Regions from separate parts of the Homo sapiens genome. Here all the other regions are linked to region 2. The links are contacts of gene promoters, found by promoter capture Hi-C in blood cells and fetal thymus (Javierre and others, 2016). All regions are on one chromosome and are shown on one strand. The core of a region is centred on a gene start or on the middle of the fragment in contact, and the rest is flanking DNA. Distances in the headings are between cores, read along the strand shown.

The links. The method cuts DNA at HindIII sites, captures the fragments that hold promoters and counts their contacts. A CHiCAGO score of 5 or more calls a contact.
Region 1: a contact is called between a fragment that was not itself captured here and the fragment with the promoter of CD200R1L in region 2, in 1 of 17 cell types (M1 macrophages). The highest score is 5.2, in M1 macrophages.
Region 3: a contact is called between a fragment that was not itself captured here and the fragment with the promoter of CD200R1L in region 2, in 1 of 17 cell types (M1 macrophages). The highest score is 6.8, in M1 macrophages.

The regions. Positions count from the first base shown.
Region 1 is chr3:112,991,206-112,994,350 of GRCh38, forward strand. It overlaps GTPBP8 (GTP binding protein 8), which reads left to right. Exons shown (of 6, transcript NM_014170.4): 1 at 1-130; 2 at 1,821-1,919. Among named protein-coding and RNA genes, the nearest start is that of GTPBP8, 1.8 kb to the left of the region's middle. RefSeq lists an enhancer at 1-36. The HindIII fragment of the contact is 160 bases long and covers 1,301-1,460 here.
Region 2 is chr3:112,844,949-112,848,195 of GRCh38, forward strand. CD200R1L (CD200 receptor 1 like) reads right to left here and starts at 1,916. Exons shown (of 8, transcript NM_001199215.3): 1 at 1,677-1,916; 2 at 731-1,002. RefSeq lists a silencer at 1-10. The HindIII fragment of the contact is 1,004 bases long and covers 1,481-2,484 here.
Region 3 is chr3:112,645,070-112,648,487 of GRCh38, forward strand. No RefSeq gene overlaps it. Among named protein-coding and RNA genes, the nearest start is that of CCDC80, 5.6 kb to the left of the region's middle. The HindIII fragment of the contact is 1,605 bases long and covers 570-2,174 here.

The DNA of each region.
Region 1 (3,145 bases), core at 131-2,630, 150 kb after region 2:
TATCTTTGACCCAAGCCCGGAGGACATAGCCAGGGCGGACAACATCTTCACGGCCACTGAACGGAACCGCATCGACTACGTCAGCTCCGCCGTCCGTATCGACCACGCCCCGGACCTTCCGCGGCCAGAGGTGAGAGGCGATTCTCACGGTTCACCTGCGCGCCGGCGTCACAGCGCTAACCGCTTCCCTGGCCGTCCGGCTCGCGGGTGATTTTGCGGTTGTATTTTCTAGCTTTATGTTGGCGCATATATTATTTTAACTCAATAGGCATATGTCGATGCTCCCTGTACGTGGGGATACCCGAGAAACCCATTGTTAAGTACAAAATGCAGTCAATACCCATAAACCCATGGTAAAGTCAAAAATCGTTAAGTCGACCCACTGTAAGCAGAGACTGCCTGTATACAGCTTAAATTATTTTGGAATGAATATAGAAGACTTCAAAATGCTTTAAAAGCTTTTCAAACCCAAATTAAGCATTCAAAAAATTAACTCTCCTTTTTTCTTCTATTTAACTTAAGTAGGGAAAACATGCCAGACAAATTAGACAGAATTTAGACAGTGAAGAATAGGAAACGAATAATAGTTTCACAAATGAGATGGTCCTTATCAATAAGTAACTTTCGCCTAATCTAAATTTCCTATCGTGCAAAAATAATAATCTCTAGATGGCAATAATGTGGAAAAATTTTTATAACAACGTTTATTAGTGAAATTTCATGAGTGAGCATTCTTGCATGTCCTACAATTTATTGATATTCTGTTCTAAGTCTGCTAAAAGGCATCTCAACTCTCCATATGTATTTACACTAAGTGCACCATTGCCCAGAGATATTTCGTCTAAATATATGTGGAACTATAGTCAGGATTCAAAGAGTACCTCAATTATTTAATGATTTTGAGACAGCCATTGCTTTTTTATTTAAGCTTCTAAATTACTGGACTTTTTTGTAATTCGTTTTTAAAATTCAGTTTTATCTACATATTAGCATTAGATTTGCTCTGGCAGAGCATTTAAAATTTTTGCAGGACTCAGATCAATTAATTTTGAAGAACTGACCAGAATTTTCCAGGATAGGATCCCTGGCCCCTGCCCACTAAATGTCCCCCAATTGTCTTGATAACCAAAAATGCCCTTAAAATCTCCAAAATGTCCCTCAAGGGGCAGTACGGCCGTCATTTAGAACAACTGATTGGCATTGTACCCCCTCCCCCAATACCATGTTCAAAAGCAGAGCCATGTGTATTAATGGTTATTATCGAGAATATTCTGTTGTTTTCCACACTACAGAGGAGACAAGCTTAATTGGAACAAGAGAGGTCAAGGGAAAAGAGTAAGTTTTTAAATTGCAGTGGTGTTACAGTATACCATGGGAGTGCTTGAGAAAATGTGCTTCCAAACATGTAGTTGTACTTTTCATCTAGTTCTGTTGAACTACATCTAGTTTTTACTCTAAAAAGCTTTGTAAATATGAAATGCTTAATAAAAGTTGCATATATTCTTGAGTAGCGTAGTGAAACTAAAAGCACAGATTCTAGATATACATGTCCTGAGTTCAAATCCCAACTCCTTCACTTTCTAGCTGTATAATTTTGGGTTAGTTGTGTTCTCTCATCCGTAAAATGGGGATAATATCACCTACCTCCTAGATGCTGTAAAAAATGAATAAGAAAATATATGCTGAATGCTTAAAATAGTACCTGGCACATTTAATTCATTCAATAAATATTAGCTGTGTTAGAATTTGAAGTTTTTTACATCTAATGCAGAATAGCATATACAGCTAGTACGTACTTATCTTGTTTTTTCTTGTATAAGGTGTGTTTTATAGGCAGAAGCAATGTTGGAAAATCATCTCTAATCAAGGCTTTATTTTCACTGGCCCCTGAGGTTGAAGTCAGAGTCTCCAAAAAACCAGTATGTTGAAGTTTTTAAATATGTTTGGACTATCTCTTGGATTAACTAACATGAATAATAAATGCTGGAAGGTATAAGAAATCATAATTACTAAGTTCCTAGAGAAGTGATTTCTTTCAAAAAAGTAATAAAGTAAGACATCCTAATGCCTGTGTATTCCTCTGAAGAAAAGGAAGTGTAGCTGGATTTATTTTAGTAGTCTAGACAATATCTTCAGAAAGTCTTTCTTTATCCAAATTTTGCAGAGTTGCCAAATAAAGTGTCTTATTGTCATTCTATATTTCCTCCTATAACAGTGATCATCTAGTTCTACACTGATTGTACGGTAAATGGCTTTTAGGTTTTTCTTGCTTTTTTCCTCCTATAATCTTTTTTAAGGTATAAAGTACGTGATTAGTTACACACACACATTCGGCATATTCTTATGTGCTTGTTTTCCTAGCCAGTCTGCTGTAATAGCTTTCTTTCATTTTCTAATTCCCTCTACTTTCTTCTCAACGACGCAGTCTCTGCCAATATCTAAGATACCCTTTCTTCAAAATCACCCCCACTTTGTCTCACCATATCTGGCCATGGTAAACCTTTCCACCAACCCTAATGTTCACTATCCCTGTGTATGTGCGTGCACGAACGCACACACACCCCTTTCATTGAGTTGGAACCCTTCCATGAGACTTCACTAGGTCTTTTCTTGCTCCTCACTTCATAAAATGATTCTCTGGCTCCATCGCTAATGATTCTTCCCATTACTTAACCCTCCCATCCTTACTCCTGCCCCGCCTCACCAAATAAATCAGCCAAATGATCACTTCTAAGTAGAGTGATCTCCTTCCTTTTGTGAGAGGACAATGGAGGAAATGTATTCTTGACATTCCCAATCTGTAATTCTAAAATCATTTTCCTGTAGACAAATAAACTGACTGGGAACTTAAAATCACCATTTATAAAAATCTTTCCTTTGATAATATTTGTTCTAAGATCCAAACAATTGACTTAACTTTAAAAATTGCCTATCTTGCCGGGCACAGTGGCTCATGCCTGTAATCCCAGCACTTTGGGGAGGCCGAGGCTGGCCAATCACCTGAGGTTGGGAGTTCGAGACCAGCCTGACCAACATGGAGAAACCCCATTTCCACTAAAAATACAAAATTAGCCAGGCGCGGTGGTGCATTCCTGTAATTCCAGCTAATCGGGAGGCTGAGGCAAGAGAATCGCTTGAACCCAGG
Region 2 (3,247 bases), core at 666-3,165:
ATAAAAAGAAGAGGAAGTTGAAGAAGAACTAGAAAAACAAGAATAAACTAACCCCAAAGCCAGCAGAAGAAAATAAATCACTAAAATCAGAGCAGAACTGAATGAAATTGAGATCCAAAAATCTATACAAAGCATCAACAAAACCAAAAGGTGACTCCTTGAAAAGACAAACAAGGTCAATAGAGTACTAGCTGGATTAACAAAGAAAAAAAAAGAGGAGGTTCAAATAACTACAATCAGATATTACACAGGTGACATTACAATTGATCTCACAGAAATACAAAATGTCCTCGGAGACTATTATAAACACCTCTATGCACACACACTAGAAAAATCTAGAAGAGATTGATGAATTCCTGAAAATACACAACCTCCCAAGATTGAATCAGGAGAAATTGAAACCCTAAGCAAACTAATAACAAGTTCTCAAATTGAATCAGTAATTTTAAAAATCTACCAACAAAAGCAGCCCAGGACCACTTTTAGGTCACAAAATTTTAGTTTCACTTCAATCCCAGCCCCCAATTACTCTGAATTCAGCCAGTCACCTAGTCAGTACACCACTGGGATAAGGCAACTCAGAAGGAGTTTTGCTGGATAATGTACACATTTATCACTGCTGCTAGGACAAGTCAAGAAACACCTTATAAGTAAGTAGATCAAGAGTATCCTCATAATCATTGAAAGAAAGCTTTATTTTCAGCTGAAAATGTCACAGTATCAGACTTACCAGACACCATGATAATGATGGAAATCAGTAATCTTGGAGCTGACATCTTCCCTAAAGTATGCTTTTGGAGTGGTTTTCTACTTAAACATAAATCCACTTTAAATCAATCAACAGACTTGGTGAATCTGTTTCTCTTGGTCACTTTTGCTTATTCTGTCTTCAACAGGATTGCAAAACATATTTCTTCATTATCTTGCTTATCTTTAATTTTTGCTGTCATTCTATATGTTTTTGACTGATTAACCACTGATGGGAAATGTCAGTGAGTTTTGCTGTGTAATAAAGCAAAAAAGCCAATGCTTACTACTCATTGCTTCTCCCACAACATTGAAGTAGCAAGATAAACTATATAACAACTCATTTAAAAAGTAGCATTTTGAGAGTATAAATTACATATGGTAAAATGAACAAATCTTGAGTGTATGGTTTGATGAATTTCTACCTATATATGCGCTTATCTAATTACTTCCAAAACCAAGATGTTGATAATTATTATTCAAAGTGTCCTTTGTTCCAAAGTGTCCTTTGTTCCTTCTCTGCTGATATCATCTCCTCCAGAGAAGTTGAGTAAACACTACTCAGACTTCTAATAGCTTTAATTCATTCTGACAGTTTTTGAACTTCACATGCATGAAATTCTTTGCAAATTTCAATTTTTAATGCTGTATAGTAAATTTTCAATAACTATATCACAATTTATTCATCAATTTCTCTGTAGATTTACATTATCCCAGTTTGGGGCTAACATAAAGCTTCTAAGAACATTCTTGTTTTGTACATAATTTTTGGTCTATGTGTACATTCATTTTCTTGGATATACACCTAGGAATTAAATTGTTGGGTTATAAGATAGTCATATGTGTGTCTTTAATAACTACTTTCAGTCATGGTTGAATAGTGCAACCCCCGCCCAACATTTATTTGTTGAAATTCTAATCCCCAGTACCTCAGAAGATGACCTTATTTGGAAATAGGGTCATTGGAGATATAATTAGTTAAGATGTGGCCATGCTGAAATAGATTGGTCCCTAATCCAATATGACTGGCGTCTTTGGTTTATTCTTTTTTTCTTCTTTTGCACTTCTTAGCTTTTTATGGTGTCCTTATAAAAAGAGGAAAACTGGGCGCATACACAGGAACACCATGTGAAGATAAAAGGCAGAGATCTGAGTGATGTTTCTTCTACAAGCCAAGGAAAACCAAAGGTTGCCAGGAAACCACTGGAAACTAAGACCGAAGCAAAGATTCTACCCTTCTGTTTTATAAGATTAAAGATTCTTTTGATGACAGGACACAACATGAAGACTCTTGGATAGGTGAAAGGCAAACCTCTTTGTTACTTATAGCTCCAAACAAGAGAAGAATTCCATGTAGGGCCACACAGTGGTTGCACACAGGGACAGGGTAACAACACACTGGAGCTGTAGAGAGTACCTTATATATGGTAATTGGAGTAGAATTAGGTTTCCTGAGAACCCTGTGCCTTAGCTAATTTGAATAACTTCACAAGCTCTAGGACATAGCTGTCCATGGGGCTGTTTGTAGTTGTCTGGTACTTAGCCCTGGGCAATTAGGGCAGGTATATAGTGACATACAGTGTGAGAACCAGATAAGGGAAGAGGCTGGGGGGACTTAAATCAGATATTCAAGAAGGGGAGCTAACTGTTAGGGGCTCAAAACTGGGACTAGAAGGCATTTTTTTTTTACATGAAAACTATATTAAAATTGACTTCTTGATCTCCACATTAGTGTTAAGCTTGATTACTTGAATTATTTGGGTGGCCTAAGTTGTAGAGCAGAGTTTTAGTAAGTAGTGCATACATTGCCCTAAATAGCACACACACACAAAAATTTTATTATTTTCTCCTTAAAAAGGAGGAAAACAAGTAGGAGTATAAAGAGTCCTTGTAGGCTGGTTCATAACCAAGTTTCACATTGTATGGCCTTAGCCAAGAAAACAGATCCGGGATTTCCAAGATCTCTAACAATATCCTGATTGACTTAAAGTATGTTAAAACATGAGCTATATTTTTGTGTGCGTGACGGTAATCTCTTGGTACATTCCAGGGTTCAAGGTGGCAGGTCCAACAATTATATTTTTGGAGAGTATGAAGTTAGTTAAGTAAGGTATATGTAAAGATTAATGACGTTTGTAACCTAGAGGAAGAGGTAGCAGCTGTGGGTCATGGGTGCAGGGCAGGATGTTGTGGTGGCAAACTGGAATGGAAAGTGTCAGAGGAGGTAATGGGCAATGGGAGGTCCTCTCTCCAGGGGGTTAAGTGGTGAACCCATATGAGGCAGTTGCTTCCTGGGGAAAGCAATAATCTCATTAATTATTAGAATGGCTCAAAGAGTAATACACTCTACCAGATTTTCCTTTAGGCATGGAAGTATAAAGGGGTACACTTTGGCAAAGAACAAGAGTTTAAGCAAATGGTGAACTCAGGAAACGAAACAGAATTTCTTATATCAAAGGAAGTAAAATGATAAATGTCCTGTGTCCAATTTTTTAGCTCC
Region 3 (3,418 bases), core at 122-2,621, 200 kb before region 2:
CTTATTTATCTTATTTTATTACAGTTCGCGGGCTTAGTGGTATATTGTTTCATTCCCTCCACCAAACAAGTCACCATATGATTTTTCTTAGATCAACCTGGTCCTGTTGATAGTTCCAGTAAGGGTCATTGCTAGTCACGGATGTGGCCCCCACAGTGTATCGTTCAGGATCCCCAGCAGACAAGCTGTAAGCATAAGCCTGGGTGCTTTTTCTTTACTCTTTTTTTTTGAGACAGAGCCTCGCTCTGTCCCCCAGGCTGGAGTGCAGTGGTATGATCTCGGCTCACTGCAACCTCTGCTCCCGGGTTCACACCATTCTCCTGCCTCAGCCTCCCGAGTAGCTGGGACTACAGGCGCCCGCCACCACACCCAGCTAATTTTTTTTTGTATTTTTAGTAGAGACGGGGTTTCACCATGTTAGCCAGGATGGTCTCGATCTACTGACCTCGTGATCTGCCCACCTCCACCTCCCAAAGTGCTGGGATTACAGGCATGAGCCACCACGCCTGGCCCTCTTGATCCCTGTTTTTTCAGGATCTTATTAGGCCATAGCTTCCGAAGCTATTTCAAGCTTCATTTTGCTAGTCATGTGAAACTGCTGCTTGGAATTTTCTAATCTCCTCCAACCACCCTGTATTATTCCTTTCTCACAGGGATGTTCTGAGAAAGCGTAACCCCCAAAAGAAACACTTAGTATTGTCCATGAAATGTCAACAAAGTCACATGTTTAATCCAAAATTGAAGGAAACTGTGTACTTTAAAAATAAAAGTTACCTAATGGGATAATGGTCAAAGCTCTTGAGAACAGTTGTTAATATTCTTTCTTTATGCATTTATTTTTAATTACTTAGAGTTTGCTGGGGAAACCTTGTAGGCACCTTTTTGTCCCTGTAGCAGGTTGCTTAATTAAGAAAATGTCCATCTCCTAGCTAGTACAAATTAAAGATCTTGCCCTAGCAGAAATTAAGGAGCTGTGTGAATGGCCCAAAGATTCATTTTAAATCTCCAGAGTGAATGATTTAAAGTTCAATTATTTATTGGTTGTTATTTTATGTAAAAGATGTGAACTTGTGGGCATATGAATTTGCTGCTTGGGGGACTAGTGCTTGGGTCTGGAAGGGGTGGATTTAAAGTCTTTATCATTGGTTATTTAATGCATACAAAAGATTTACATCGATTGGATCTGAAGGAGAACATTCCAATTGTACCTTTCTCCGTGCCCTTAGGTATGGCCAAGAAGATAAAGATGATATAATTTTTTTCTCCTTTTTTTCAATCCTTCTCTCAAATGTTTGGCAAAAATGCAGACTGAGCACCGGGAATGACACAGAACCAAGCAGACTCTCCCCTCTAGAAGTTCACAGCCCATTGGAGAAGATAAATATTATACTCTCCACAGCAGTGCTGCCAACTTTCTCTGCATGTAAAAGTTCAGTGCTGACTATGGCTGCAGCCAGTATGCACAGAGTTCATTTCTGTTGGAGAATTTGCCTCTTCAATTCCTTGAGCAGGCTTTCCACAGAAGGAGGCTTGCCATGGCAGCAACTGTGTGTCACCTATAAGATCTTGCTTGGTATGTCCTTTTGGCTGTGGAGTCCCCTAGAGTCCCAGATACTCTTGTCTGGCAGACAAGTGTTGTATCTCATTTTCCCAGTCCCAATTTCGGCCCGGCACCTGTCCTGCTAGGATTGCCCTATCCTTTAGTGGTCGGTTCACTGTACTGACCTTGCATGGCAGGTCTTGACCACATCACTCAGAATATCACCTTACATCAGAAAGTGTGAACCAACAGGATGGCAGCTCATTCATTCGACAAATATTTACTCAATGCAAGGCACTATTCTACTCACTAGGGATACATAAATGAACATTCCCTGACTCCCGGGAGCTTACATTACAACGGTGGGAAACAGACAATAAAAATAAAAACAAAATACCTAAGCCTACATACGTACTTGAAAGAGTTTTTTTTGTTGTTTTTTTGTTTTTTGTTTTTTAAAGGGAGGGAGTAAATGTTGATGAAGGGGAAGAGGCCATTTTAGATACCCTTATCCAAAGAAAAGGATTTTAAGTGAGAATGGAAAGCAAGTCACTCAAGTATTGGGGGAGGGGAAGAACATTCAGAGTAGAGGGAATGGTGAGTGCACAGGCACTGACACCCGGGCTATTTCACAAGCTTGTTCCAGAAGAGCAATGTTGGCCGATTTTAAGCAAGGATGTGGCAAAGCTTGATATGTGACTTAACAGGAATGCTAGGAATGCTGCCTGGAGAATAGAGTGTGGCTGCAAGAATGACAACAGTTAACCAACTGGTGAGGAAGATAATGTAGTGGTACAAGTGAAAGGTGCAGTCTATTGAACCAGCGTGCTAGAAGCACGGTAAGTGCAGAAAAGTCACTCGATGTGGTATATATTTTGAAAACAGAGCTGACAGAAGCAGTTTGGGGCAGAAAGAATCAAATGTTTTGTTTGAAATTCCCATCAGACACTCTGATACAGATGTCAAGCAAGCAGTTAGATACATGAGTCTGGACTTCGAGGAGGACTGAGGCTGGAATTATAAATTCGAGAGGCTATTTAAAGCAAGCTTGCCCAACCCGTGGCCCATGGGCTGCATGCAGCCCAGGGTGGCTTTCAATGTAGCCCAACACAATTTGTAAACTTTCTTAAAACATAGAGATTTTTTTTTACTTTTTTTTTTTTTTTTTTAGCTTATCAGCTATCGTTAGTGTATTTTATATGTAGCCCAAGACAATTCCTCTTCTTCCAGTGTGGCCCAGAGAAGCCAAAAGATTGGACACCCCTGATTTAAAGCCTAAGGCTAGAAGAAATTACTTAGGGACTGGTAGAGGAAGAAAAAGAGTAAAGGACATGAAAGAGGAACAGCTAGTGTGATGGGGGAAAGGCAGGAGCACGCAGTGTTTTCAGTAGCCGGCAGCTGGGACCATGTTACTTCTTTGGCCGTTTCTCCACAGGTCCTTGCTACATGTGTCCAGATTCAGCTTATTCATCAGTGTCCAGGCCCTGCATCACCTCCTCCACAGGGTTTCCCGATGCTCCAACCCAGATGGCTCTCTCTTCTCTGAGAAGCAATTCTGTAGAGCATCACTCCTCTGATCTTTTTGTACTTCACGCATAAGTTCGTGTTCTCCTAAGCAGATCTTTAGCTTCTAAGAACATGGATTAGTGTTACATTATTTTGCATCCTTCTTATCATTCTGGTATATAGTAAAGGTGCAAAAATTTTAAGTGCATGTCAATCAAATACATTTAAAAACAAAGACGGAAAAATCCCAGAAGGCAACCCAACTATGAACTATCACTTTAAAGAAGGAAAGAAAAGAAGAAAAAAACTCGACACTGCTATTGAGCCAGGGAGTCTCTTTAGCCTCTATGTACTAAATAATAAGAGTAGAAA